Regions from separate parts of the Homo sapiens genome. Here all the other regions are linked to region 3. The links are contacts of gene promoters, found by promoter capture Hi-C in blood cells and fetal thymus (Javierre and others, 2016). All regions are on one chromosome and are shown on one strand. The core of a region is centred on a gene start or on the middle of the fragment in contact, and the rest is flanking DNA. Distances in the headings are between cores, read along the strand shown.

Region 1 (3,767 bases), core at 1,057-3,556, 4.3 Mb after region 3:
AGTTGTCCTTGAACACACAGGTTCTGCATAAGGGAAGTGATGTGAAAATTTAAGACAATCACCTAAATAATTCACCCTGAAAACACTTTTACCTTAAAACATTCAGATAATGAGGTGGGAGATATATTTCAAAGCATCTCAAATAACCAGATAATTATTCCAATTCTATACTTGATTTTTGCACCAACCTAATATATAAGACAGTGATGATAGTAAGTGAAAATAAAAACAACACCATCCTGTACCGAGCTAATCATATTTGAATGGCAAAGTTCTCAATATTCTTGTAAATTTATTTCATTGTAATAAATCCAACAAACTGTGAGAACAATGTAGCAGACTCAAATGAAAAAGCCCCATCTTCCAGACCACAAGTCAGCTCCCTCCTTTTCCTTTCCCTACTTTTTGTGGTTTTGATGTGAACATAGAACATGTCTTGGAACCCAGGACTTCATGTTGGTGCATTAGTATCATTTTATTTATGTATTTATTTATTTATTTTTGAGACAGAGTCTCGCTCTGTCACCCAGGCTGGAGTGCAGTGGCGAGATCTCAGCTCACTGCAACCTCCGCCTCCCGGGTTCAAGCGATTCTCCTGCCTCAGCCTCCCGAGTAGCTGGGATTACAGACGTGCGCCGCCATGCCCGGCTAATGTTTGTATTTTTAGTAGAGATGGGGTTTCATCATGTTGGCCAGGCTGATCTCGAGCTCCCAACCTCAGGTGATCCACCTGCCTCAGCTTCCCAAAGTGCTGGGATTGCAGGCGTGAGTCACTGTGCCTGGTCGCATTGATATAATTTTTATAAGATACTCCAGTCCCAACCCAGGTACATATTTTTCAACTTTCTAAGCAAAATTTTAAATAATATTTTCATAGTAAATTGGGAATGTTTTCATCCCTTAATTAAAAATAAACCAGTCAAGCTGGGCGTGGTGGTTCACGCCTGTAATCTCAGCACTGGGAGGCCAAACCAGGTGGATGGCTTGAGCCCAGGAGTTCAAGACCAGCCTGGGCAACACAGTGAGACATTGTCTCTACAAAAAATACAAAAATTAGCCTGGCGTGGTGGCGTGCACCTGTAGTCCCAGCTGCTTGTCAAGCTGAGGTGGGAGGATGGCTTGAGCCTGGGAGGTGGAGATCGCAGTTGAGCCTGGGAGGTGGAGCCAAGATCATGCCACTGCACTCCAACCTGGGCAACAGAGCTAGACCCTGTCTCAAAAAAACAAAAAATAGGCTGGGCGCAGTGGCTCATGCGTCTCAAAAATAAATAAATAAATAAATAAATAAATAAATAAATAAATAAATAAAATTAAACCAACCCACAGTCCCTTAAAAGCTGGGCTCTTGCACAACCCTAAACTGCCTCAGATAAGCCGTGGTCAGTTTGTGAGACTCATTGATCGTGTGCAATTGTGGTCCCATGGCACGCTTTGGATTCAAATTCTCATCCAACTTCCCTTGCTACCCCAGGTCGCCCTCAAACTTTGTTCTTTTATTCATATCTGGCAGGAAGCTCAGATGAGTAAGAGAAATATCTTGTTTTCTGATGGTCAAATCTTGATTTATTATCACTCAGGGCCATTATCGTCTAAATGTTCTCCGTGGTTCTAAAGCTTTAGTGTACGAGATCACGAGGATGTGAAAGGTACTTTTGAAAAATTCAGGTCTCAGAACTCCAGCCCCAGTGATGCTGATTCTAAAATTCTAGGGATAGGGAGTGGGGGACGCAGGTGGAATCAGAAATCTGCCGTAAGAATAAAATAACCACAGGCCACCCTGACAAAGGTGGTCTTCTGGCCTCCCTTTAAGAAGCACTGGGGAGGACCTCAACCCCTTCTGATGGTTGGACAGTGATATTTTACCAGCAGAGGCAGGACCCTGATGCGTTCCAATGGGGTGTTCCTCTCTGAGCTCTTTGGACGGAATGACAACCCCAAGCAGCAGAGCGTGTTAGCAACAGGTACCCCAAAGGCTGGCTTGCCCGTGTATCTCTGTGCAGGGACGCTTTCACGGCGTTGTTTCCCTCCAGAGTGCACAGTGAGAGGAAGAGCGGCCAGCTCCGCCCGTGGCGGTCCCCACCCTGCGCGCCCGGCCACTTACTTGCCCACCACCAGGCTGGCGCCTTCCAGCACCGCCAGGCTGCGCAGCGCATCCCGCGCCAGGAAGCGCTCGCCGCGGGCGCACACCAGCACCACTTGCTGCGCGTTCTCCAGCAGGAGGCTGTGGCCGCTTGCCATGTCGCCTCGCGCCGAGGGTCGCCGGGAGGCCACCGGGCTCGGGCCACCGGCAGGACTCAGTGGAGGACGAAAAGCCGCAGCCTGCGCTGTCCGGGGCTGGGAGGGTGGGGCGGGGGCGGGCGCTCGCAGCCGCTGCCCTTTGCTCGCCTCCCCCAACCACAGCAACGGGGGCGGTAATCATTGCAAGAATGGCAACGAGTAATAAACCTGATGAGGAATCCTCTCTTTTTTGGTCGTCTTGTCCCATCCCGAGTAAACGAGATGGAGACTAGTGTCCCTACTTTTCAGATAAGGAAACTTAAGCTTGGTCACCCCGAGAGATCAAAGTGAGCTGTGTGGATCACGTGGTATGTGGAAGCGCGTCAAGGGTTGGCTGGGTGAGGGCACCCGGAGTGTTCGGGAGTGAGGGACCGGAACCTGGGGTAGAGCCCCGGAAGGGGGGCCATGGGGGAAACCTCTGCCCGGGGGGTTGGGGTGGGAGCCTGGAGATAGCGCTCCTGGAGAGGGCAGAGTAGGGGAAAGCTGTGCCCAGGGGCAGGGACGGGAGCTTGGAGGTAGAGCCCCGGGAGAGGACAGAGTGGGGGAAACCTCTGCCTAGGGTGCTGGGACGCGAGCCTGGAGGCAGAGCCCCGGGAGGGTACTGCGTGGAGGAAACATCTGCCCACAGGTTCTGGGGCGGGAGCCCGGGACGCGGAGGGCCGCGAGCCGAGGGAACCTGGGGGTGGGGAGGAGGGGGATGCGGTAGGGGAGGTGCTCCTGGGTCCGCGCGGGTGGCGGGTGCCCCGCACTTATCCGTTGGCCAGCTGCGTTCCGGGATCAGCTACCAGACGGTCCCTGAGATGACCGGGAACCGGGCTGGGGGAGGATAGAGCCGAGACTGGAGGATCGATTGGCACCTCCGCCCACTTTTCCCACAACGCCTTCCCGAACGATAGGTTGGAAAGGCTCCTGGATCCAAACTCGCTGAGGTAAAATAGGTTTCAGCTCAGTGTCCGCCCCTCCGCATGCCCCCTCCCACCCCTCAGCTGTGTCTGGTGGGCCTACAAGCAACTTGCGACCAAAATTGGAGACAGAATCAAGTTTATGGAAGATGGTCTGTGATTCTCAGCCTCGTCGCTTCCTGCTACCAATTGCTATGGAAACACTGCCAGGCCCAGGCTTTTGAGTCCTTAATTACTTGATTTCGTTTATTCATGTTTATCACAAGCTCTGTGTTAAGTCTTGTGGAACATACAAAGATAGGAAAGGCGCTTTCCCTGCCCAGTAAAGACTTTACAATAAAAGTGATAGATGTGGACACAAATAATATACTATAAAAGCAGACTAAGCCTGCAAACCCACAAAATATAAAAGTTAATTTAGTCTCATTAAAAAAACCTGGAACAGAAAGCAAACACTCCTTTAGATGACCACGATAAATAAGAATATAATTTAGCTTCATATTATGGCCTATAAAAGAGAGATCAGTTAGGAAAGAGAAAGATAAAAATTGGAAAATATATAGACAATGTGAGTGAAAGAGACCCTAA
Region 2 (3,942 bases), core at 1,439-3,938, 3.3 Mb after region 3:
TCTTGAGGAAAAAATGTTTGATGAAAAGAAAAAAGGAAGAGCAGACGTTCTGGGTATCGTTCCCATTTGGGAAATTAAGAACATGGGGTCCAATGTAATTTCTATGACTTTATAAAGAGGCAAGTGTCTTCCTAATTTCAACTGTGGAGAATAAGTCATTCAGCAAACATTTACTAAGAACCTACTAAGTGCCAGAAATTGTGTTAATCACCAGGGAGACGACTGTAGAGATCCAAAGGTAAAAGATTAGATTTCCCACTATCACAAGTAGTCAAAATATTCATTAACAGAATGAATGAGGGAGCTAAACATTACGAATTTCACACCGAAAAGACAGAAAACCATCCAGAGTAATTGAGAAAGCTGAAAATGGAAAAAATCATCAAATTTTGCCATGCAGGGATGGGGTAAGTGAAGCTTACATGGGAGATGGATTAAAGAAAGTTCTTCCTCTGTGTATGTGTGTAGATATAAATATGTTTATATTTTTCATATTAAAACTTTTTTAAGACAAAAATTAATTTTAAGATCAACTTCTAAATATTAAAAAGACAATATAATGAAAAGTAGAATTCCAAAAAAAAGACCATAGACTTTCTTGTGCTGAATATTTTTATTTTCTGAAACTACAAAAAGCTAATTATTAAAGAAACATTAATTGTAAATAGTAAATTAGTTTACAAAATATTACCAAGTTAAAAATACAAACACACACACACAAAAAAAAAACACAAACAAGAGCAGCCAAATATACTACATAACTAAAAAGCTGACCCAACTCTGATTACTGTATTGAATACTATCATCACAAAACAACTCTCATTTTTTCCACCTGGCCCTAAGGAAAGATCCCTGATGACCACACACCATAGTTTAGGAAAAAATGAGTGAAGTGGTTCATTCAAATAAGAGTAGAACTAAATAAAAAACAAGAAAAAAGTTGTAAATGTTGATCATATGCATTAATGCTACACATGTAAGAAAAAAGACATAAAAATAAGTTTTTGGCTAAATAGCACCTTTATTTTCCCTAACAAATCTTAGTTCAATTCTGAAGCCTCTTATTTTTATCATAAAAGCTCAAAAATAAAAGCTTGGTAAGTACTCTAAATGCATTAAGATATCCATTTTTTCATGAAGATTTTTTTTAAATTGCTTACCTTAAGAGATCGATGAACTCTTTTTGATTTTAAATCCCAAATATTAACAGTGTTATTTAGGCCTCCGCTTACCAAATACATAGATGTAGAATTTAAATTGACACATGTCTGCTTTTGCTATTTAAAAAAAAAAAAAAAAGTTACCTTAATTTAACAGAGCCCAGAGCTGACTTTCAGGTCTCATCCAACACTTAGTAAGCATATGATAAATATTGGTTAAATTAAATACTATAAACATGCTAATCTTGTACTAAAGAGCCACTCTCTCATCGTCTTTCTTCCACATGGATCCAACAGCTTTTAAGGGGGTCAAAAATGCTTCAAGGAAATCAAATAGATTTGCATTCACTTCTGTGGACCGGTGACGACACAGGAAGCTTAGAAAACACTGGCAGTCCTGGTCTCCCATCAGGGCTTGTTTGCCCATCCTATCTCCTCTTGATAAAGCCTGCTCTTGTATTTCCACAGAATATCCTACATTAAAATCAATCCCCAGCTCAAAAATGCTAAAAATAGAAGAGACTTTAAAAGAATTTCCAGTGTACAGCCCTCATTTTACCGATGGGATAAGTTTTTTTTTAAAGAAGTCAAGATACTTGCCCTAAGTCTTCCAGCAAATCTCCGTTAAGGAGACCAAGTCTCAGACATCAGGTCATCAAAGCCTGACTTCAACTGTTCCCCATCTCTGTAAAGACACCATCCAGTTTCTCAAGATAAAAACCCAGAATAACCCTTGATTTCTTGTTCTCCCTCCCCTCCAATCTATCAGTAAGCTCTCTAAACTCCAACCCAAGAATGAATCCCACATGGGCTCCCCTTTATCTATAGCTACTACTAACACTAACCCAAACCTTACCAAACTACGACAGCAGCTTCCTAACTGGTTTCCCTGTTTCCACTCCTGCTCTCCTATATTCCATCCTTCATAAGTAGGGTGGACTTTAAAAATGTAAATCAGATCATGTCTCCTTCCATACCCAAATGACTATAAATCATGCTGCTATAAAGACACATGCACACGTATGTTTATTGCGGCATTACTCACAATAGCAAAGACTTGGAACCAACCCAAATGTCCAACAATGATAGACTGGATTAAGAAAATGTGGCACATATACACCATGGAATACTATGCAGCCATAAAAAATGATGAGTTCATGTCCTTTGTAGGGACATGGATGAAATTGGAAACCATCATTCTCAGTAAACTATCGCAAGAACAAAAAACCAAACACCGCATATTCTCACTCATAGGTGGGAATTGAACAATGAGATCACATGGACACAGGAAGGGGAATATCACACTCTGGGGACTGTGGTGGGGAGGGGGGAGGGGGGAGGGATAGCATTGGGAGATATACCTAATGCTAGATGACGAGTTAGTGGGTGCAGCGCACCAGCATGGCACATGTATACGTATGTAACTAACCTGCACAATGTGCACATGTACCCTAAAACTTAAAGTATAATTTAAAAATAATAATAATAATAATAATAATAATAATAAATCTTCAACGGCTTCCAATCACACCAAGAATAAACTCCAAACATTTACCTGGCTTTCAAAGTCCTATTATTTGGGCCCTACCTCATCTGTTACCATTTTCTTCCTCATCCACTAATTCTCCAGCCATACTGACCTTCCATTCCTTAAATATACAACCCTATATTTGCCTCAAGGCTTCTACACAGCTATTCTCCTTGCCTAGAAAGCTAAATTCACTGAACCCTGTTTGGAAGACTTTCTGGTCAACAGATATCAACTTAAGTGCCACCACACTTCAAGGGACCTCCATTGGCTACCTAATGTAACTTGCTATCACAATATCTTATTTTAGTTATCTGCATGATAACTTACCAATATCTGGGTATTTTTTGTTTACTAGTTTACTGCCTGTCCCCCGCCAGAATGTCAGTTTCACTAGCACAAGGCCCATATCCATGCTCCATCTTTATAGAATGGCTAAAATACAGATGTTGTCAAGTTCTTCTCAGTGAGTATCTTTGAGTGTCACCAATTTGGTGGTGCCATCAGTAACTATGCTATACAGAACAGTGTTGCATTTTTTTCCTAAGTAACCTTTAGATGCACTACGAAGTCACATTAGTTGGAACTTCCACAGTGCATCCTTGGATTCTTCAAATTCAAAGGAGACATTTCATGACTTCAAGAAAAGTTAAAAGGCAAGCTATGTAGGTTTAGGCAAATCATCTCACCTTTCTGAGCCTATGCTTCTGCATTTGAGAAACGAAAGGTGAAGACTAGATCTACTGTTCTTACTTTGAGAATCCATGCTTCTCAGAAATATCCTCTGCTCAAAAGAGATTCTTTAAAGGGTGCATATGATCCCCTTCCTCTAGCCCTTCCCCCATTGCACGTTCAAATACTATAAACATGCTAATCTTGTACTAAAGAGCCACTCTCTTACTGTCTTTCTTCCACATGGATCCAACGGCTTTTAAGGGGGTCAAAAATGCTTCAAGGAAATCAAATAGATTTGTGTTCACTTCTGTGGACCCCAGGGTTCCTTCTAGCTCTAAAATTTTGACCAAGAGTATCAACTAACATATAAAAATAGCAAGATGCACACAACATCAATGTTTCAGTATAGTTGCTGTAATTCTCCTGCAGATACCATTCTAGGAATTGACTTTAGTTGAGGGAGACTAAGAAGCTTTAGAATCTGGTTGTCACTGCAAATCAGGACAGTTTGCTAAGAACTATCAAAACAGCCTTTAAATAAAATAGAAAAAGATGGTGTCCATTGAAGATCAATATATT
Region 3 (3,980 bases), core at 1,321-3,820:
TTGCAGTGAGCAGAGATTGTGCCACTGCACTCCAGCCTGGGCGACAGAGCAAGACTCTGTCTCAAAAAAATAAAATAAATTAAGTTCCCATGAAGCCAAAGATCTTCAATCAGCAAGATGCTATAGGGCAGGGATCCCCAACCGCAGGGCTTGTGGTCCGGTACCTGTCTGTGGTCTGTTGGGAACCAAGCCTTCATAGCAAGAGGTGAGCACCAGGGTGGGGAAGGAGGGTGGGGCCGTAAGCATTAACACCTAAATTGCACTTCCTGTCAGATCAGCCATAGCATTAGATTCTCATAGGAGCAGGAACCCTATTTTGAACTGTGCATGCAAGGGATATAGTTTGTGCACTTTTTTTGTGAGAATCTAATACCTGAGAATAGTTTCATTTCAAAACCATCGCCCACACTCATACCCCCAACCACACGTTAAAATTGTCTTCCACGAAACCAGTCCTTGGTGCCAAAAAGGTTGGAGACTGCTGCTGCTACAGGGTACAGAAGTAGCAACTTTTTTTTTTTTTTTTTGAGACCGAGTCTCGCTTTGTCGCCCCAGGCTGGAGTGCAGTGGCGTGATCTCGGCTCACTGCAAGCTCCGCCTCCCAGGCCCACGCCATTCTCCCGCCTCAGCCTCCCAGGTAGCTGGGACTACAGGCGCCTGCCACTACGCCCGGCTAATTTTTGTATTTTTAGTAGAGACAGGGTTTCGCCGTGTTAGCCATGATGCTCTGGATCTCCTAACCTCGTGATCCACCCACCTGGGCCTCTTGCTGCTTGCCATGAGCTTACAATCTGGTTTGGAAGACAAACTAGAGCCATTATTAATTATACACACATGTATGCATACAAATGTGTCTGTATGTGTATACGAGATGACACTGGGATAATACTGTAAAAAAATGTTTTACACCTGCTTATTTCACTTATAATACTGTCAGCATTTTCTCTACATGTTTAAATGTTCTTTGAAGACATAATTTTAAGAAGCTTGAATTTGTTATCAGTCTCAGGTTGTATTTTGGTGTATTTAGCCAATATGCTATTCCTGATTATTTAGCTTCCTTCCCATTTTTTGGCTGCCTGTATACGATGACTATGAATAATACAAAGCACTTCTAATTAATTCTCTAGGTAATAACAGAATTGCTGTGTCATGGCCCGGTGCGGTGGCTCACACCTGTAATCCCAGCACTTTAGGAGGCTGAAGCAGGCAGATCACGAGGTCAGGAATTCCAGACCAGCATGGCCAAAATGGTGAAACCCCCGTCTCTACTAAAAATACAAAACTTAGCCAGGCGTGGTGGTGCGCAACTGTAGTCCCAGCTACTTGGGAGGCTGAGGCATGAGAATGGCTTGAACCCGGGAGGCAGAGGTTGCAGCGAGCCGAGATCGTGCCACTGCACTCCAGCCTGGACAAGAGAGCCAGACTCCCTCTCCAAAAAAAAAAAAAAAAATTGCTTTGTCAGCTGGGTGTAGGGCTCACGCCCCTAATACCAGCACTTTGGGAGGCCAACGCGGGTAGACTGCTTGAGGCCAGGGGCTCGAGACCGGCCTGGCCAACATGATGAAACCCCGTCTCTAACAAAAATACAAAAAATTCGCTGGGAGTGGTGGTGCACGCCTATAATCCCAGCTACTCTGGAGGCTGAGGCGGGAGAATCACTTGAATTCAGGCTGCAGTGAGCTGAGATCGCACCACGGCACTCCAGCCTCGGTGACAATGATAATGATACACATTGCCAAAACGTTTTCCAGAAAGATTGTAACAATTTACATTCCTACTCAGTTTGATTTCCCTCTTTCATTTCTGTTTCAAAAGAAATGAAAAAGAAGGAAAGGAGGGAGGAAGGAAAGAATTTTTTTTAATGCTCTGTTAATTTGATAAAGGAAAGGCGTGTCTTTAGGTTTGCTTATTTATTCAAACATATATTTTATGACTATACATGTTATGAATGCCATTGTATTAACAGTACTTCTGTTTAATTGACCTTACCAACTAGGTCGGCCAGTAGGCCAAAGTCTTCAAAGCCTCTAGATCCTAAGACCGTGATTTTTAGACTTTTGGAGGGTCATAGAACCCTTTGAGAATCTAATGAAACCTATAATCTTGTACCCAGGAAAATCCGCATACACCCAAACACCGTGCCCATAGTTTCCAAAGGCTGATGAACTTTACGGACCCTTCTGTCAGGAACGCATCTCTATAAGCCTATTTTCTTTGGCTATTTCCTGTTACGAAATAAAACATATATCCCACTTCCGGGGCCTCGCAGCCCAAAACTAAAACCAAAATCAATTTCAATTCAAAGCATCACAATCACCCACCCAGCTCCAACCAGGGAATCCCTCTGGCTAAGTCAGGGCCGCGCGGGGGTGTCTGCAGTTCATTGATGTCCGGAGATGAAACGTAGCACATGAAACCACTAGGCGTATATATCTTGTCCCTCGGAGAAAGAAAGTACTTACGACACATTTTCATGGCTGTAACCGATTTTGGCGTTGTAAGCTCCATTATCCAGCACTAAGGTCGTCATCTCACCACCAACCACACCGCAGCCGTAGTTGTTTTCCCTTTCCGACCCCTCTGCTCGAGCTTTTTCCGGTACTCTATGGTTTGTTGGGCGGAGCGTTAGGACGCGCCTCTGGTCACCTTAGCAACGGAGGACGCCGGAAGTCGGAGATGCTAAGCAGCACCGAATGTTAGGGGCTGTGCTTCCAAACTTAACCTGTTTATGTGGTGGCGAGATTTGACTACTATGTGCTTTCTCGCTCATTTCGTATTTGTTTTTAACTACGCAGATTAATTCGCGCAAGTTTTTTCTAATCCTGTAGAGAACCGGCTGCGTGTGTGTGTGTGTGTGTGTGTGTGTGTGTGTCTTCCAATCGCATTCTTCAGACGGTGACATTCTTTGAAGAAAAAAGTGCAAAACTTGCTCTTGGACTCACATTCATACTCTCCTCTTCCCCAGCCCACTTGCTCTTCAGGACGAAGCTGAGTGAGTCTTTCTCATCCAAAAAAGGCTTTTGGGCCGGACGCGGTGGCTCACGCCTGTAATCCCAGCACTTTAGGAGACCAAGGCAAGCAGATCACTTGAGGTCAGGAGCTTGAGACCAGCCTGACCAACACGGCGAAACCCCGTCTCTATTAAAAATACAAAAAGTAGCCGGGCGAGGTGGCGGGCGCCTGTAATCCCAAGTACTCGGGAGGCTGAGGCGGGAGAATTGCTTGAACCGGGGAGGCGGAGGTTGCAGTGAGCCGAGATGGCTCCACTACACTCCAGCCTGGGCGACAGAGCGAGACTCCGGCAGGGCGGGGACTTGGCAGGTGCGGGAGGCAGGACCTGGCTTCCGGGGCGTCGCGGGGGCAACGGCCAGCGGGCGGGGGCAAGGGCCAGCGGGCTAGGACAACTGCCAACGGGCTTGGAGGGGGGCGTTCTACAAATTCCAGGCCACTTTGAGCGCCTGAGAGAGGAGCGGGGCGGCGGGAAGGGGGCACCGCGGGGGCAGGGAGCGCAGCAGCCGCAGCGCGAAGGCGCGGGGGCCGGGGAACAAACGGTTGGCGCGCAGGCAGCCATACCGGGGCCGGAACCCGGGCAGAGGAGGGCAGCGACGGCGATGGGGAGGCTGCAGAGCCCGGGGCGGGTACCGCGCGGGAACCAGCGCGACTGCGTGGCTACCGCAGCCGTCGGTTCGTGTTGGACGGGCGCCGCTGCTGCCTCTGCTACTTCAAGAACCCCCACGACCCGCTGCCCCTCGGCCACCTGGACATAGCAGAAGCCTGCTTCAGCTACCAGCGCGCCGACGAGGCGGCGGAGCAGCCTGCGCACTTCCAGGTGCGCAGCGCGGGAGCCGCCACGGTGCTTGAGGTGGGAACTCGCGCCCTGCAAGCGCCTGGGCCCTTCTGTCGGCGCTCCTTGCCTCCCCTGGGGGCCTGCCCCATCCACCCTCCTTTCTCCAAGGCCTCCTCGCACCCTGCCAACG
Region 4 (3,798 bases), core at 277-2,776, 4.2 Mb after region 3:
AGGGCTGAAGTCCTATTTCAATGCAGTTTCAAAACTAAACACCGCATGTTCTCACTCATAAGTGAGAGTTGAACAATGAGAACACATGGACACAGGGAGGGGAACATCACACACCAGGGCCTGTTGGGGGTAGGGGCCTAGGGGAGGGATAGCATTAGGAGAAATACCTAATGTAGCTGACGGGTTGATGGGTGCAGCAAACCACCATGGCATGTGTATACTTATGTAACAAACCTGCACGTTCTGCACATGTACCCCAGAACTTAAAGTATAATAATAAAAAAAGAAAAACCACACTGTGAGACTGCCATATTTGAACATGAGTTTATACGTCCTACATTCAAAAGTACTAGAGATTTAAAAATTAAGCAATTCAGGACACTTGTGTTCAGATGTGAATAATTGCAAACCAAAACCGAGGTCGCTAGTGGAAGAAATTTAAAGAGGTTTTTCTAATATATGAACAGCAAATTCTTCCTTGAATCTTTAGCTGCAACATATATTTCAGAAGAAATATTCCAATTGGTTTAAGATATAATAAAACCTTGACTAAGCCCCAAACCCACTCAAAGCTCTTAGTTAACTGGAAAGTTCTTGTTCTTCACCTTTATTTAAAAAAATTAAATTATAAACTATGCTGATAAAAGTAAAAGAATGAAAATTTTTATAGCTTTTTGCTGCTTAATGTGACCTCACACTTACCTTTGTTTTGTAAAATAAAAACTTAAAAAATTTATTATTTGAAGTTCAGGTGTACTTCAAATGTGCAGGTTTGTTACATAGGTAAACTTGTGTCATGAGGGTTTGTTGTACAGATTATTTTGTCACCCAGGTATTAAGCCTAGTACCCATTAGTTACTTTTCCTGATCCTTTCCCTTCTCCTACCCTCCACCCTCCAGTAAGCCCCAGTGTGTGTTCCCCACTGTGTATCCATGTGTTCTCATCACTTTTGTAGAATAAAAACTTTATCTCTGTTCTATAAGTAAGCAAGAGTCAGGATGTTTAAATTTTGAAAAGAATGTCCCAATCTAAAAATCTGCTCATTGTTTTTACATTCCCCAAATCTAGAGAAAAGTAAGATTTTAAAATAGTGATTTCTGGTTGGCATGTCTGTTTAGCAAATTAGAGCCTGGAATTATAATAATGTTACATGTTATACAAGGAAGGCAATTTATGGTACAAAATAACATGTTTATAATTGTTTGCTTATTTATGACAAAAGCCTTAGACCAGGAGCTTATCCTTATTAATTAGTTAATTAGTATTTATTTAAAGTTAACTTGTTTCTTTCCTCCACTAGATTGTGGACTCTTGAATGTAGAGACTGTGTTTCATAACTCTTTGTATCTCAGCTTCCTAGTATAGTCTATGTCTGGCATGTAGAGGACATTCAAAAGTTTGATTAATGGATGATTTCAATTAGAAAACAGTGCCTAAGCTTAACATGGGCTACATTGATAATAGTGCCAGCTGTATTTCAGAGGTGAGATGGGAAGACCCAGTGCCAGTGCGGAATCAGGAGAGACGTCATGTCTTCTTTTCCTCTCCGTTCTTAGAGTTTGTGATGTTGAGGAATGCTGAAGGAGACTTAATCGGACAAATTCTAAGCTTTCTAAAATTCTTTTCAAGTTTTGGGTTATTTACACTGAAGTTTGATCCTCCAAATTTATGATAACTTTCATACATTTGTTTCTTTTCACTGAAACCTTCAGAAATGTTTAGGTGTTCTTTTGGTTAGTGGCTCAAGAGGTTTTAGTGCCATGGCCAAGGCAGAAGCCAGCAGTTAACAATAGGTAATTCTGACTGCAAACCATCTTGTTTTCACTAAGTAAATGTCTCAACTGGGAATCAAATCAAGGTGGTTTTTTAGTTTTAGCTTTGTGTTTCACACATAAACCTATTTTTTTTCATCATATCCCTGCACATAGCAAGTAGAAAATGTAAATTTAGACATCATAATGAGGCATAAAGCTTTTTTTAAAAAAACTCTGCTTTGTTCTAGAAAGGACTGAGACTGCTTGAAGCAACATATATAGTATAAGATTAAAAATAATTAAATAATTTGCAGGAAGAGAGAATAGGGATAGGAGAAACAAAACCCATGGCATAAAGCCCTCTATACTTTAAAAGAAGTGGGCCACAGGGTTGACATGGAGCTTCCTACCAGCCTGTGCAAAAAAGGAATCAGATACCTATTCCATGTCAACTGACCAGCTACTGAGAAGTACAACTGCTTTTTAGGGGGATGGAGGGTATTGTTCAAAGAGGATACTGTGAAACATATAAATTATATCCTATAATTAGTAGAGCTGTTGATGCTTAACACGTTTCTTAAAAAGTACTAAATCCAACTTGTCAACAATCCAGTTTTCTTTATTTTTCTTTCTTATTACAGTTTTTGACTATTTTTTAAAAATAACATCGCTGAAATTTGAAGGGGAATTTTAAAAAGTAGTTTGCAAATGATAGTTGAGACTTAGGACTTGAGATAATACAGCTTAAACATTGCATTTTTTGTTTTCTCTTGGTCTAGGACCTGCTTCATGCATTAATTGACACCTAGTGTTTTTGAGGCAGAGTGCTAAACCCTGGGAATACAGACCTAAGTAACATTCTCTGTTTTAGAACCCTTAGTCTAATGGAAAAAGAAATCATTATAATGCAGTACAGTAAGTATTATAGGAAAGGGTAGGGCCAAGAGCTATAACAGACACAGGGGATATCAAAACGTTTCACAAAAAATAGTTGTCACTATGACACTTCTGATTCTGAACAGATTTGGAAAGTTTAGCCAATATAGAAAACAGAATATGTTCCACTGGGAAATGACCCAGTTAATTCATCTATATAAGCATGTGTTATAAACACAAGATACTCAAATCAAGTTTTTAAAACAAGTTAGCTATTCTGAATAGCTATTCAGAACTAGGTACTAGACTATGAAGAGACTAGAGAGGTACTAGAATATGAAGGAGTAACCCTATTATTTTAAATAAGATATAAACCGTATCTTCTACTAATTTAGAGTAAGGATAACAAATGAGGTACCCCCAAAAGAAAGTACCCAGGGGCAGCTGGGAAATGGCTGGTTCTTGGCCTCACATGTAGCCAGGTCAGATTTCAGAAAAGGAAAAAAATAATGCCAGAGGTAGGGAGATCTGGTAGAAAGCAGTTCTGCCAGTCCAGGGCCTGACCTGGGTTAGTAGTGGAAAGAAAGGAAAAGTATGAAGACATTGTGAAAGAACAACTTTTAAGTGGCTGTGTGGGGTTGGGAAATGGGATCAAACCTTAGGTAACTGGAAGAGTTCTTTTAACAGAATCAAGAAATCTGGGGAGAAATCTGATTCAGGGAGTATAAAAATCATTTTTGGAATTTTTAGAAGCCTATTCAATGTGTGGTGCTATGTCCCATGGAAATGTTGAGCAGGCGATTCGACTGAGGTCCTGGGGAGGGAATACAACTGTAGAACTAGAATGGCAGGCATCTTCACAGAGATACTAATTGAAGATGTGGGCATGAGTAAGAGCTAGGGAGTGAAGGATATGGCAAGAAAATCAAAGGACCGGGGCTGGAACATTGGGACATATCCATATTTTTGAATTGGAATAAAGGAGGGGAAAGGAAAAAAACATTAGACAAATAGAGAACCATTTATGATGTATGCGTACAGGCAAAGAAGTGAAGGAAGGGGTTTTAACCAGATGACATAGTCCATAAGGGCTGTGAGTAGACAGAGGTCAAGGTTATTGGACAGAAAAGACTTTGTTGATCGGGGTGGGGGCTGCCCTTTCAATAG
Region 5 (4,230 bases), core at 1,130-3,629, 4.3 Mb after region 3:
AATGCAATGTTATGACCTTTACAGCTCTTTAGCTTACCTGCATGTTCATGTAGCCATCTACAGATACCAGATAGCCCTTGTACTCCATTCCCCACTTAAGTTTCACCATCACTGGCTTTCCTGTTAGTCCATTGAGGAAAGGTTTGGGATTGAGGGGTAAACTCTGCACAAAGAACAAAAAAGGATCTAATTAATTATTTTTCCTCCCACCACCAACTCTCTTCTACCGAATCACCAATATTTTGTGGTATGCAAATGAAGAAAACTTTTGACTCCTTATTATTTTAGTACATAATTTTCACTTTTATTTGTTGAGAGTACCAGGGAAATTTAAATATCCAGTTAGCCAATTTCACCTTTAACCCATCAAAACAAAACACTGACTATTCACTTAAGATACACTGACTACCTACATCACTCACTGTTCTGAGCTCTAAAGAAACAAAGATAAAGGCACTAAAAAAAAAAAAAAAAAAAAGCGGGCCAGGTAGGGTGGCTCGTATCTGTAATTCCAGTAATCTGGAAGGCCAAGGCCGGGGGATCACTTGAGGTCACGAGTTCAAGACCAGCCCAGGCAACATAGTGAGACCCCCATCTCTACCAAAAATAGTCAGGTGTGGTGGTGCACACCTGTAGTCCCAGCTACTAGGGAGGATGAGGTGGGAGGACTGCTTGAACCCAGGAGCTCGAGGCTGCAGTGAGCTATGATTAGGCCACTGCACTCCAGCCTGGGCAACAGAGCAAGACCTTGTCTCTTATAAATAAATAAATAAATGAGTCCCTGTCAAGAAGTTGGAGATGGGGAGGGGAACTCCTCACATACAAATAATTATATTGCATGCTGCACTGTAGTAAAAGGAGATATACTAGGCACAAGGGTACCAAAGCAATCCAGGGGAAAAAGGAAAGGTTGCCTGAAATAAGTAATACCTCAGTTTTAAAGGATAAGAGTTTATTTCCAGAGCGGGAAAAAATGCTGTTCCAGGCAAGGCTAGCTACTTATGTAAAAGGAGGGAAGAGTGATGCAACAAGGTGGTTTTGGGGACATACAATTCAGCATTGTCAGTCAAAGCCCCAAATATAAAACTACAGAAGGAAGCAGAGGGCAGATCACGCTTGACAGTATTTAACTGGGGAAGCTAGGGCTAGGTCCTATCTGACTTTGTCAGTAGCACCGCCTCTTACTTACAGCAATTACTTAATGTCTATTTATTCAGCAAACCATTAACATCTCCAGTGATTTCGGTTTTTGCCCTCTTCTGCTCACTCACCAGTCAAACAAAGAAGAGAACTAAGAAACTTGGCTACTAACCCCCTCTAACATGAGCATATTCGGAGTGATCTTGATATGGCGATTACTCCAATAACCTAATGGGTCTCCAGTTTTCATTCTCCAATTTGTTATCCACCACAGTAACTATGATTTTTTAAAGTGCACATCAGATTGTCATATTTCTGCTTAAAATGATCCAATGGCTTCCAACCGAATCATTTTAAATTGATTTGGAGTACAATCAAAACCTCCCAATACAGCCTAAGAGGTCCTGCCCAACGCCTGCTCCTCCGATACCATCTCTTAACCACTATTCGCGCAAGTGGCTATACCTTTCTGTCAATTTCTCCAAATGACCAAGCTTTCTTTCCGGCCGCAGGTCTTATGCTCCTATTCCCTGTGCTCGGTACACTCCTCCTCCTGCTCTTTAAAGGGTCGTATTTCATGACACTTAGGCTTCGAGTTAAATTCCACCTCCTAGGGAGGCCATCTCTGACTAAGCCTCTAATGTCTAACGCGCACCCTCACAGCCTCCTGTCTGCATTGTTCTTAGCACTTATTATTTGCAATTACATACTTGTTATTTTTTGACTAATGTCTGTCTTCCCCACCCAAGTGAGTTAATCTAGAGCATGGCCGTATCATTACTTTCACGGAATGAAAGTGAATTCTGGAGTGTGGTTAAGTGGGAAGTGCAAATTCTCTTTGACTTTTACCCCGACCCTATAGCCCCAACTAAGAATACCCCAGGCCCGGATTCAAACAAAGAGAAGAAGGCACGGGCACTCCTAGGAAAAGAAAGGCATCGGGAGGAGCACGCGCCTCAGAAACCTAAAAGCAGAGTGAAAGGAGCTGGCGACAGGGTGCGCGGCGCCTCACGCGGATGAATGGGAAACGCGCGAAGGAACCAGCAGGCCCCGCGAGGCTGGTCTCCCTCCTTCTCTTTCTCCCCGCTTCTCCCGCCGTTCTCTTTCTCCTTACCATCGTAACCACGGCCGAATGTTGCAGGCTACTCTCTGCCGACCAGGCCGCCGCCCGTCCCTCGTGACTACAGCAGGTACCGCAGGTCCCGAGCCGCAGTTTCAAGAGAAATGGCCGCCAAACAGGACTATGACCTTTCACCTCCCACCACGGCCCTTCCTGCCTCTGTGATTGGACGCAAAGAGGTGCGTGCTGATTGGAGGAGATGGCTGGCCCAGTATCTCCTAGCAACCAGCAGCGGCTTGGGTTTGCGCCTTGCAGGCGGCGCGCGGACCTTGGGAAACCGGCTCTGAGCATCGCTGTGAGGCAGCCAAGGACTGGAGGCAGGCCGGTGTTTTTAAATGTGGTGTCCTTCCTAGAGGGCGGTCTGGGAGAGGCTGTGTAACGGATGTGACTTCTCCCCAACTTGGCTAATGGGGATTTACTTTGTCTTTTTACACCCGTGAGAATGTTCGGGGTCCCAGAGTTCCTTCCTCACTCTTCCAACAGGTTCCATGATTTGGGGGCGCCTCTGCCGCAGGCCCTTTCTACCTGAGTGTTCTCTCTTCTGCAACACCCGTTTTAACCCCTTTTAAAGGAATTGGGGGCTAGCCAGACTAGACTAGGGGCGGCGAAACGCACTGAAGAGAGTTGGATACAGAATTTCTTGCAAACGAGGTCGAGTTGCGTCTGGGATACGGTGTCATGCCCCACCCCCGCCCCACGACCCTGCCGGCCCCACCTTTCTTTTGCTTCGCCTGCAGAAACCCGCACGGCCTTCATACGTGCATTTGAAATTACCTAAGGGCGTAAGCAATATTTCCTCTGTCACGGATTAAAACTTTCGATGTAACGGTGTTATCTGAATCTCACTAGTTTTTGTCGTAATCCTATTGAGTTCGGGTCACTCTGATCTGAAATGCTAAATGCAGTTCTTGGAGAACACGCCCTTTGGGAAGTAACGCTTTTTTGCGGCCCTGAAGAGATGGATTTGGAGTTGAGGATGAAATGTTGGGTGTTGAGGCATTGTGGAGCAGTGGGCAAGACTTTGGAGGGGGCCTGCATTCGGAACCTGCGTCTATCAGGCGCGGCCGGTGTTGGGCAGTGTCTTAACCCCGAGGGCCATTGTTTCCTCGGCAGGAACGCGGCTTTAAAAACGGAACCATCCTCAGGGTGGTTGCGAGAATTTAACGTAAAACGGGGCTTGGCCTTGTAAAAGCTCAGTGTTTCACGTAAATGTTGAACACTGACCAGACAATGATTGTCAGTGTAGTTTTTACCAAACAGTTATTAGATTTATTCACCCTAAACTTCAGTGGATTTCTCCGTTTGTCTATTGTTTTATGAACTTTAAGTCTTTGTATAGACTTTGAGTTCCTACTATGTGTCAGGCTTTTTCAACAATCGTGGAAATCTTACCTTACTGTCTGATTCGGGGTGACAGCCCCGTTTAAGAGATGAGGAAGTAGGCCCAGCAGGTAACTGTTACCAGTTGAGGGTAGCTGTCCGAGTTCTTGGCGTTTTCAACAAAGAATTGGACAAAACGCACAAACAAAGCAGGGCAGCGAAAGCAGAGATTTATTTTAAATGAAAGTACACTCTACAGGGTGGGCACCGCCTGGTGCAAGCGGCTCAAGAGCATTGGTTATAGAATTTTCTGGGCTTTAAATACCCTCTAGAGGTTGCCCATTGGCCCACAACCAGTCTGATTGGTTGCGGGAGGGGACCAATAAGAGGTACTTTCATTTTTCAACTGCCACGCAGAAAAAGGAGGGGTTGAAATGGGAGTAGCCTCTGATACCCAGTCAGCATGGATGGGCCCTAGGTTCCCTGCTTCCAGCCGCTATTCTTCTGCCTCATAGCTTGCTCAGGACCACATACCTGGGTTTCAAAACTCTGCTTTTTCTACTTCATGAAGCTACCTTTCAAAGACTCAATATGTGTTTTAGAAGCCTGACTCTTTAGCTGTTTTCTCAGTGAAGTGAAACGAAATACTA
Region 6 (3,932 bases), core at 1,129-3,628, 5.0 Mb after region 3:
GGGAACAATAGTCAAATTCATTGAAACGTTTAGGAAAGTTACTTGAAGTTAAGGGAGGGGATTTTTGCTTTTGAATCTAATCTGTGGTATTTGGAAGGGTTGGTTTAATTTAAGAAAATAAAAGGAATGTTGTAGAACATCTAGGTTATATGTATCCAGCAGAAAAGCTTGCTTTGTTTTTCTACATCTATAAAATAATCTGCCCTTAGTGGAGATTTCAGAATTATTTTAAGCTGTATATGAAAAAGGAGAGGCTGGGCGCAGTGGCTCAAGCCTGTAATTCCATCACTTTGGGAGGCCAAGGCGGGTGGATCACTTGAGGTCAGGAGTTTGAGACCAGCCTGGCCAACATGGCAAAACCCTGTCTCTACTAAAAATACAAAAATTAGCCAGGTGTGGTGGGGTGCGCCTGTAGTCCCAGCTATTCGGGAGGCTGATATGAAAATTGCTTGAGCCAGCGAGGCGGAGGTTGTGGTGAGCCGAGATCGAGCCACTGCACTCTAGCCTGGGTGACAGAGCAAGACTCCATCTCAAAAAAAAAAAAAAAAAAAGAAAAAAGGAGAGAGAATTATAGGTATATATAGGTATATATTTTGTGTCCTTTTGAACATGTACAGGTCACTGTCTTCATTGTCTGTGCTTTGCGTTTTGGCTGGTCCAGTAGCCAGAGAGTGTACACGTGAACCACAGCCATCTGTGTGTAACAGATGACGAGTATGTTTGTAATAGTTAGTAAAATGGTACTAGTGCTTTACTTTCTTACCTTATATTTCCCTGGAGCCAAACAGCTGTGTAAATAAAAGATTTGCTGCTTTGCTCTAAGAAGCTTTGGGTCTGACTGTTGATGCAGTATTAAGATCCAAAGGTGCTAGATTTATTGCCAAATGTCATGCACTTATTTCACATTGGAGTAGACCATAATATAATGGCTTATTATTTTTTGAGTTGTGTTTCTTCCAAAATAGAGCCATGAAAAAAAAATAATGAAGGATTTTGGATATTGCTCTACCAGTGACTTAGTTGAACACTTGTTCCTATTAATAATTAAGGAATTTTTCAATAATCGTATTGAAATTGATTCCTGCTAACTTTTCAAAATATTATTCTACATTAAAATGGATGTACATTTTTGAATGTGATTATTTTTAAAGAAGAAATTTTCTGTTATGGAGACATATTAAAGAGTATGTGTATGTGGCAGCTGTGATTATTCCCAGGCCCTGTTGTTAGCACTGGGATACATCAGTGAATGAGACAAAGTGCCTGCCCTTCTGGAGCTTGTGTCTTATGCTGAACACAGACAAAGGTGAACTGAAAAAACATCAACGCAGGAGACAGAGGCCACAGTACATGAGGTTCTTCTGAAATGAGTGTCTCAGAAGTTATCATCTCAGATTCCTATGGGCTTTAGAGGCCTGTTCAACTCCCCCATTTATAAGGAAGGAAAGTGAGGCAGCCAGGTCTGTACAAGGCCCACAATTAGGTTAGCCAGCTCCCTGAGTTATGTCTGTGACTTCCTTCAATACACAGTTAACTAACAATGGCAAGCCCAAGTTCACAGTTATTAATTGAATTCAGTGAGTATGCGTTGAGGGTTTTATGTACGTAATAGGACTTTGCTATATTTATTGGGAATCAACTCCAGCACATACGTAGTTAATTGAATTTCTGTGACACTAGAACAGGAATTTATATCTCTTGGAAGCAGATTTGTGTACAAAACGCATTTTTTAAAAAGAGTAAAATTGGTACCAGGGATTTTTTAAAAATGATATTTAAATGACCCTAAAGCTTCTGACAAGGTTCTAAGATACGGAAAGTAAAAGATTAATTTGATGAGAGATGAAGTTTTCTTCCAACTGTGGTAAAATAGCACATAAGATAAATTTACCGTCTTACTCATTTTTAAGTGTATAGTTCAGAAGTGTTAAGTACATTCACATGGTACATCCAATCTCAAGAACTCTTCATTTTACGAAACTATTTTTTTTGTTTTCATGGAGACGGAGTCTTACTGTGTTGCCCAGGCTGGTCTCCAATTCCTGAGCTCAAGCAATCCTCCCACCTTGCCCTCCCAAGGTGCTGGGATTACAGGCATGAGCCACTATGCCAGGCTGCCAAAACTAATTTTTAAAAAATTCTTTGAAAAATCCCAGAGGTAGGATGTTTTGATAATGGTTACAGAAATAAAATCAACTTGACAGTCGTACTGAGTAAGATGGGCCGTTGGGAAGAGGCCTAAGGCATTCATACTTTCTCTTAAGACTTGACTTACTAAATGGAGGGTTTGATTTAATAGACATTTACAACTAGGTTTCTCACTAGGATTTGAAGGGTTTTTCAGTTATTTTCTGCCTAAAAAAAACTCAGACAAAATTAACTATGATGATTGAACAGCTAACTGAAATTATGTAGTATAGGAATTTGCATTATTTTGAAAATAATTTTTTATTGATGATGACATTATACCTAGAAATTGAGTGAGAGGACATGTATCATCATATACATCATATAATCTTTATTGCACACATAGAAGTAGAGATTTAGGGAATTCTTCCTTGGTTGGTAAAAGGAAGTAGAGCACCCTACTCCTCTTTTTTTTAAAAAAACTCAGTTCCGTGTAATAGCTTCCCAAGTGTCGTGACTAATTTCCTTTGTTCAAAAGTAAGTCATCACCAAATGAAATATCAGAGCCCCTGTCTATTCAAGTAATTAAACAACGTCCAGCAGTCCTTTGCAGCAGATATTTTGAAAAGTTTTTTCAGTAAATTAAGTTTTTATTAAGTGTTAGATCCTGTCAAACGAACAAATATAAATGTAAAAGATAAAATATTTTTTATGACATGTCTCCTTGGGGAAATGTGGTCAATAATATGACAGTGTAGGTGGAAGAACATAAAGGAACTTACAGATATACAGGCTTTATTTATCTTTTCGCTTTATAGGTCTGTTGTGTAAAGCTTTTATTAGGTTCCTATAGTATAGGAGCAGATCTGTACCGATGCAGCATTGTATAATAGGTGTTAGTTAAATACCTTATATATAATGTTTAGGAAGAATTGCTACACTAGAAATTGTAGTTATCTTTTAAATGTAGTAGAACAGTGGATGTTAATGAGGGATAAACAACATAACCTGTGGAACTTAAAAGATGTACAGATGTCCAGGATCTATCCCCAGAAACTAACTAGTTCACTCTAGGGTAGGACCTAGACATGTGACTTTTTAAAAAATAGAGCTCCGTGAAGGAATATAATGAAAATTCCCAACCAATAACTCTTGGAGAAAGAAATACCAGGTTTATTATGAGCCTTAAATAATACCAAAGAATTAATTTTCAGTTTTTAAATTTAGAAAATTTCTGATTTCTGTCTTCCTTTTTTAATATTGTTTTGGGGTTCTATCTATCGAGGTAGACAGATCATTGATCATTGATCTGAAGTTTAAAGAGCTGCATCCTACATTTAACTTAGGCAAATTCAACTTTCAGCACTTGGCAAATGAATTGAAGAACAACTATGTGGGTCCCAAACTGAAGTCAATTATCTCATTTTTTGTCAATGAAAGATATGATGGGCTGGGCGCGGTGGCTCACGCCTATAATCCCAGCACTTTGGGAGGCTGAGGTGGGTGGATCACGAGGTCAGGAGTTTGAGACCAGCCTGATCAACATGGTGAAACCCCATCTCTACTAAAAATACAAAACTTAGCCGGATGTGGTGGTGCGCACTTGTAATCCCAGCTACTCAGGAGGCTGAGGCAGGAGAAATACTTGAACCCTGGAAGCAGAGGTTGCAGTGAGCCGAGATCATGTCACTGCACTCCAGCCTGGGCGACAGGGCAAGACTCCGTCTCACAAAAAAAAAAAAAGAAGAAAAAGAAAAAAAGATATGGTAACAGTTCCAAAGCTGGAGAAACAAACTGTATTGGAT
Region 7 (4,078 bases), core at 716-3,215, 4.7 Mb after region 3:
ATTAGGAGAAAGATCTTGAAACACTAGCTTTCCATTCCCTCAAAGACCTAACAACAGGTAAGTAGTATTGACTGACTCTGATTACTGAAATAACTACAAATATTCCTAAAATCTTCTTTAATACATTGAAGATTTCCAACCTGATGGGCAACTTTGTAGAGATGTAACAGAACAAGATAACACTTCAAGATTAGCACTGTGATTTTTTTTGGGGGGTGGGGGGAGGTGGACGGGTATAGACATAGGGTCTCACTATGTTGCCCAGGCTTGTCTGGATTACAGGCATAAGCCACCACACCCAGCCAATATTTTTTAACTAGCCTGACAGGCCCAGGAAGCATTATGATACCATATACACAGTGGGTCTATAGCAATCTATTATATTGCCTTGAATTTACAAAACATTTTCTTGTGAAGAGCTCAAAATAAGTTCATAATCTAAAGCATAAGCCAATGTAGAACAGAGGTTTAAGGAAGAGGAAAAGCTAGTAATTCCCTTGAATCTTGGCACTTTTTTCCACCAAATGTTCACTATAAGCTTCTTGAAGGCAGAGAACATACCACTCTAAAGGAAAACAACTACTCTACATTACCCTAACACAATAATTACAGCCCCAACTAATGGTTAAAGACCTAACCCCAGGCTGGTGGTGCTTGAGGGGGAGCAGATGTTCTCAGTAGTAGGCAGCTACAAATAAAAAGAATGGGAAAGCCCCATTTTTCCTCCGCCAAAAGAGGCTGGAAAAAAGTTAAGTTTTCTTACCTGTCTCTTCCTTCACTGTTTTACTGATAACATCAATTAGCAGTTGCTGTCTTTAAAAAAATCTTATTGTACCCAAACACCCAGAAGGAGCTAGGGTCAAGGAATTTATAATAAAACTTAGTGCACTCCTATACGATTCTTTCAGAATGAAAAGAGTTAATTTTGGTATAGAGAGTAAAAGGAACAGGCCGGACACAGTAGCTCAAACCTGTAATCCCAGCACCTTGGGAGGCTGAGGTGGGCAGATTACTTGAGGTCAGGAGTTCAAGACCAACCTGGCAAAACCCCATTTCTACTAAAGATACAAAAAAATTAGTTGGGCATGGTGGCAGGCGCCTGTAATCCCAGCTACTCGGGAGGCTGAGGCAGGAGAATTGCTTGAGCTCGGGAGGTCGCAGTGATCCGAGATCACGCCACTGCACTCCAGCCTGTGCGACAGAGCGAGACTCGGTCTCAAAAAGAAAAAAAAAAATAGAGAGTAAAAGGAACAAACGTGCAGTCAGGCACTAGGTTTGAAATTCTGGCTCTATTCTACACATATTAGCTATGTCACTTTGGGTAAATCATGTAACTACCACTTCCCTATCTGTAAAATGAGATGGCTGGGTAAAGCCATGAAGGGCTGGGTAAAGTCAAAATAAATAGGAAAAGACAGTCCATTACCAAAAAACAAAATGGATATCTAAGCACAAGTAGGTTACTTTGCTTGGTTTTGTGAGGTTAAAATGTGAATGTATGTGAAAATAACCTAGGAAAGTATCTAGTACATAGTAGTTCTTCAGTAAGTATTAGTTAAATAAACAACCCCTCAATCTTATTAATACTCACTACTTTGCCTTCTACCAAGTATATTTTTAAACTCTGAGATCTGTCCTATCTGAACAGCTAATTAACACATTGAACTTTTTCAAGACTTGCTAATAAATACCTTTTCCTTTTTAATCTGTGACATTAATTGAGGTAACAAGTGAAATGTCAGAGAAAACACTATACGAGTAAATAAATTTTGATTAAGGAATATCACATTTTCTAGCTTTTCTTTCTTTCTTTCTTTCTTTCTTTTTTTTGAGACAGTCTTACTCTGCTGGCCAGGCTGGAGTGCAGTGGTGCAATCTCAGCTCACTGCAACCTCCATCTCTCGGGCTCAAGCAATTCTCCTGCCTCAGCTTCCCAAGTTGTTGGGATTACAGGTGTGTGCTACCACACCCGGCTAAATTTTTTTTTGTCTTTTTAGAAGAGATGGGGTTTCAACATGTTGGCCAGGCTGGTCTCGAACTACTGACCTTATGTAATCCACCCGCCTCGACCTCCCAAAGTGCTGGGATTACAGGTGTGTGCCACCACACCCGGCTACATTTTCTAGCTTTTCTAACCACAAAGATCAAATTAACCATTTACCTTCATCATCTTCATCTCTTTCTTTATCTTCCAATGCTGATCTTTCCAACTGTCTTGCTACTTCATCCACTGAGGCTCCTGATTCTTTATCAGGTTCCTGTTCCCCTGCTGATCAAAATAAAATAGCAGAAATCAAATCTAATACAGACACTTTCCCACTAGAATATGCTCTAATGATCTTGGAAAACTTACAAATCCTTTCCTCAGGAAACAAAAACAGAAACATTATTGTGAACATAACAGAATTCGTTTAATGACAGAAAAATCTTCCATACCTACACAGTATTGTCCATTCATTAATTTACTCAACAAAATATCCATTACACACACTAGCAGCTAAAAGATAAACAGCGTGAACTGGTCTCTATCCTCAAGTAGTTTAACTTGTAATAGTGGTCAGCAATTAGACTTAACAAATACTTAAACACCAGATAGGTAATAAATGCTGAAGGCCTTAGGAAAAAGATTCATGTGCAACACCCCGGGGCAGCCTGGTTTCATGAATAAGGATATCACGATGGGCTGGGTAAAGTCAAAATAAATAGGCAAAGACAGTCCATTACTAAAAAACTAAAACGCTCAAATATCTAAGCACAAGACCAGGCCCCTGCTCTGGAAGTGATTATAACCTACCTATAAGAGCAATATGTTACATGCATTAATAGTATCAGGTAGCACGAAATGAAGTGACATTCTGGCTACTGGAGAGAATTCATATTAAGAAATACAACTGTTAAAAATACATTAGGATCAGTCAGCTTAACACCTTACAAGACAAACAGCAGTGTTTGAATTTCACTCGAAATCCAGGAACAGCCACCAGAGTAACAAATTTTGCTCTGGAAGAGTTCCAGCAACGCTACAACTCTCCTTCCATTCCTATCTAATCAAAATTTCAGAAAGATGAAGATTAGCTCTCTTCGACCTCTCTCAATTCCATCTTAATCGCTTCTGACTTCTCCATTTTCTGTTTCTCTGGCGATTTTAATTAGAAACAAGTAAAAATAATTTTTATTAAGGTGAAGGAGCTTGTGCAGCAAAAACACAGACTTCTCAAAATATGTAAGTTCCTAGTTCATAATATCCAACTGTAAACTCTCAGCAGTTCTCCTTGCCTTACCAGTGGATTTAGAGGTTAAGACCTCAGAAGTTCCATTCTGAGCCACAGAATATCCTATCTGCACTGCCTGCAATTGGTATCATAATTCAGGTCTAAAGGCCCTAAAGCTTGGCGATGCTATGGGATTAGGCAGGTGAAAATTCGTTATCACCACCACAAATTCTGCAATTAATGACATGAGCGCGCGGGCAAACACACATGTACACACACCCCAAAAGTGCAGGCTGCAACAACCCCAACGTGAAACGGGATAGTGGGAGGAGGTGTGCTCTCCATTACATTTGCCCACCCCCAAAGAAAATAAGTCCTAGCTTGCTCCAGCAAACCAGCAAAGACGCGGCAATACGGATCAGAATCGGATTTTTGAGGCGGCGGCCAAATCGCGCGAAAGATGGTAGGGCTGTGCTCTGCGCACAATCTCAAGACCGTGCCACGATGTGCGTGGGAGCTGAGTTCTGGTAATACAGGGGCTCGGGCCCAGCGACCCCAGAGGTACCACACGCCAACCTCAGGCACTCTTTTCTCCCCCACCAGCCCTCTAGTCCCACAGGAGGAGATGACGCCTCTTCTCAGACTAGGAATCTATAGCCCGGCTTTGCCACCCTGTCAGGCCCAAGAATCAGTCTAGTCGGGGCTCTGGGGCCCCGGTCCCGGCCCCCTCAACGGGCCTGAGCCAAACAGTTCAGCCGTTCCCGGAGGGGACTGGGAAAACATAAAACTCTCTTTACCTGCAGAAGGCCCTTTGCTCTTCTTCTTCTTTCGTCTTTTTTTCTTGGCTGCTTCCTCAGCCGTAGAGG

The links. Contacts are between HindIII fragments. The CHiCAGO score rates a contact against its expected background, and 5 or more counts as called.
Region 1: the fragment with the promoter of AMDHD1 here is called in contact with the fragment with the promoter of ACTR6 in region 3 in 1 of 17 cell types (total CD4 T cells); the score reaches 6.2 in total CD4 T cells.
Region 2: a contact is called between a fragment that was not itself captured here and the fragment with the promoter of ACTR6 in region 3, in 1 of 17 cell types (total CD4 T cells). The highest score is 6.7, in total CD4 T cells.
Region 4: a fragment that was not itself captured here is called in contact with the fragment with the promoter of ACTR6 in region 3 in 2 of 17 cell types (non-activated CD4 T cells and total CD4 T cells); the score reaches 7.9 in non-activated CD4 T cells.
Region 5: the fragment with the promoter of SNRPF here is called in contact with the fragment with the promoter of ACTR6 in region 3 in 1 of 17 cell types (naive CD8 T cells); the score reaches 6.0 in naive CD8 T cells.
Region 6: a fragment that was not itself captured here is called in contact with the fragment with the promoter of ACTR6 in region 3 in 1 of 17 cell types (total CD4 T cells); the score reaches 5.8 in total CD4 T cells.
Region 7: a contact is called between a fragment that was not itself captured here and the fragment with the promoter of ACTR6 in region 3, in 3 of 17 cell types (total CD4 T cells, total CD8 T cells and naive CD8 T cells). The highest score is 9.8, in total CD4 T cells.

What each region holds. Positions count from the first base shown.
Region 1 is chr12:95,941,870-95,945,636 of GRCh38, reverse strand. AMDHD1 (amidohydrolase domain containing 1) reads right to left here and starts at 2,306. Exons shown (of 9, transcript NM_152435.3): 1 at 2,102-2,306. The coding sequence starts at 2,238. CCDC38 (coiled-coil domain containing 38) reads left to right here and starts at 3,023. Exons shown (of 16, transcript NM_182496.3): 1 at 3,023-3,206. The HindIII fragment of the contact is 927 bases long and covers 1,617-2,543 here.
Region 2 is chr12:96,914,956-96,918,897 of GRCh38, reverse strand. NEDD1 (NEDD1 gamma-tubulin ring complex targeting factor) reads right to left here. Exons shown (of 16, transcript NM_152905.4): 5 at 1,161-1,277. Among named protein-coding and RNA genes, the nearest start is that of NEDD1, 9.7 kb to the right of the region's middle. The HindIII fragment of the contact is 2,298 bases long and covers 1,540-3,837 here.
Region 3 is chr12:100,199,405-100,203,384 of GRCh38, reverse strand. ACTR6 (actin related protein 6) reads right to left here and starts at 2,570. Exons shown (of 11, transcript NM_022496.5): 1 at 2,466-2,570. The coding sequence starts at 2,533. RefSeq lists enhancers at 398-457, 89-774, 775-1,462, 2,307-2,506, 2,480-2,774 and a silencer at 3,267-3,626. The HindIII fragment of the contact is 11,223 bases long and covers 989-3,980 here.
Region 4 is chr12:96,030,049-96,033,846 of GRCh38, reverse strand. All of the region lies in intron 1 of LTA4H (leukotriene A4 hydrolase), which reads left to right. Among named protein-coding and RNA genes, the nearest start is that of LTA4H, 3.6 kb to the left of the region's middle. RefSeq lists an enhancer at 796-965. The HindIII fragment of the contact is 170 bases long and covers 1,442-1,611 here.
Region 5 is chr12:95,857,101-95,861,330 of GRCh38, reverse strand. SNRPF (small nuclear ribonucleoprotein polypeptide F) reads right to left here and starts at 2,379. Exons shown (of 4, transcript NM_003095.5): 1 at 2,255-2,379; 2 at 38-163. The coding sequence starts at 2,257. It overlaps SNRPF-DT (SNRPF divergent transcript), which reads left to right and starts at 2,492. Exons shown (of 3, transcript NR_135014.1): 1 at 2,492-2,577. RefSeq lists enhancers at 2,057-2,106, 2,137-2,366, 2,487-2,546, 2,597-2,656, 2,055-2,670. The HindIII fragment of the contact is 4,587 bases long and covers 1,637-4,230 here.
Region 6 is chr12:95,211,481-95,215,412 of GRCh38, reverse strand. The region is part of intron 1 of FGD6 (FYVE, RhoGEF and PH domain containing 6); the gene reads left to right. Among named protein-coding and RNA genes, the nearest start is that of FGD6, 4.0 kb to the left of the region's middle. RefSeq lists an enhancer at 1,364-1,443. The HindIII fragment of the contact is 1,169 bases long and covers 1,794-2,962 here.
Region 7 is chr12:95,474,262-95,478,339 of GRCh38, reverse strand. METAP2 (methionyl aminopeptidase 2) reads right to left here. Exons shown (of 11, transcript NM_006838.4): 1 at 4,010-4,078; 2 at 2,162-2,269. Among named protein-coding and RNA genes, the nearest start is that of METAP2, 2.1 kb to the right of the region's middle. RefSeq lists an enhancer at 3,972-4,078. The HindIII fragment of the contact is 2,850 bases long and covers 541-3,390 here.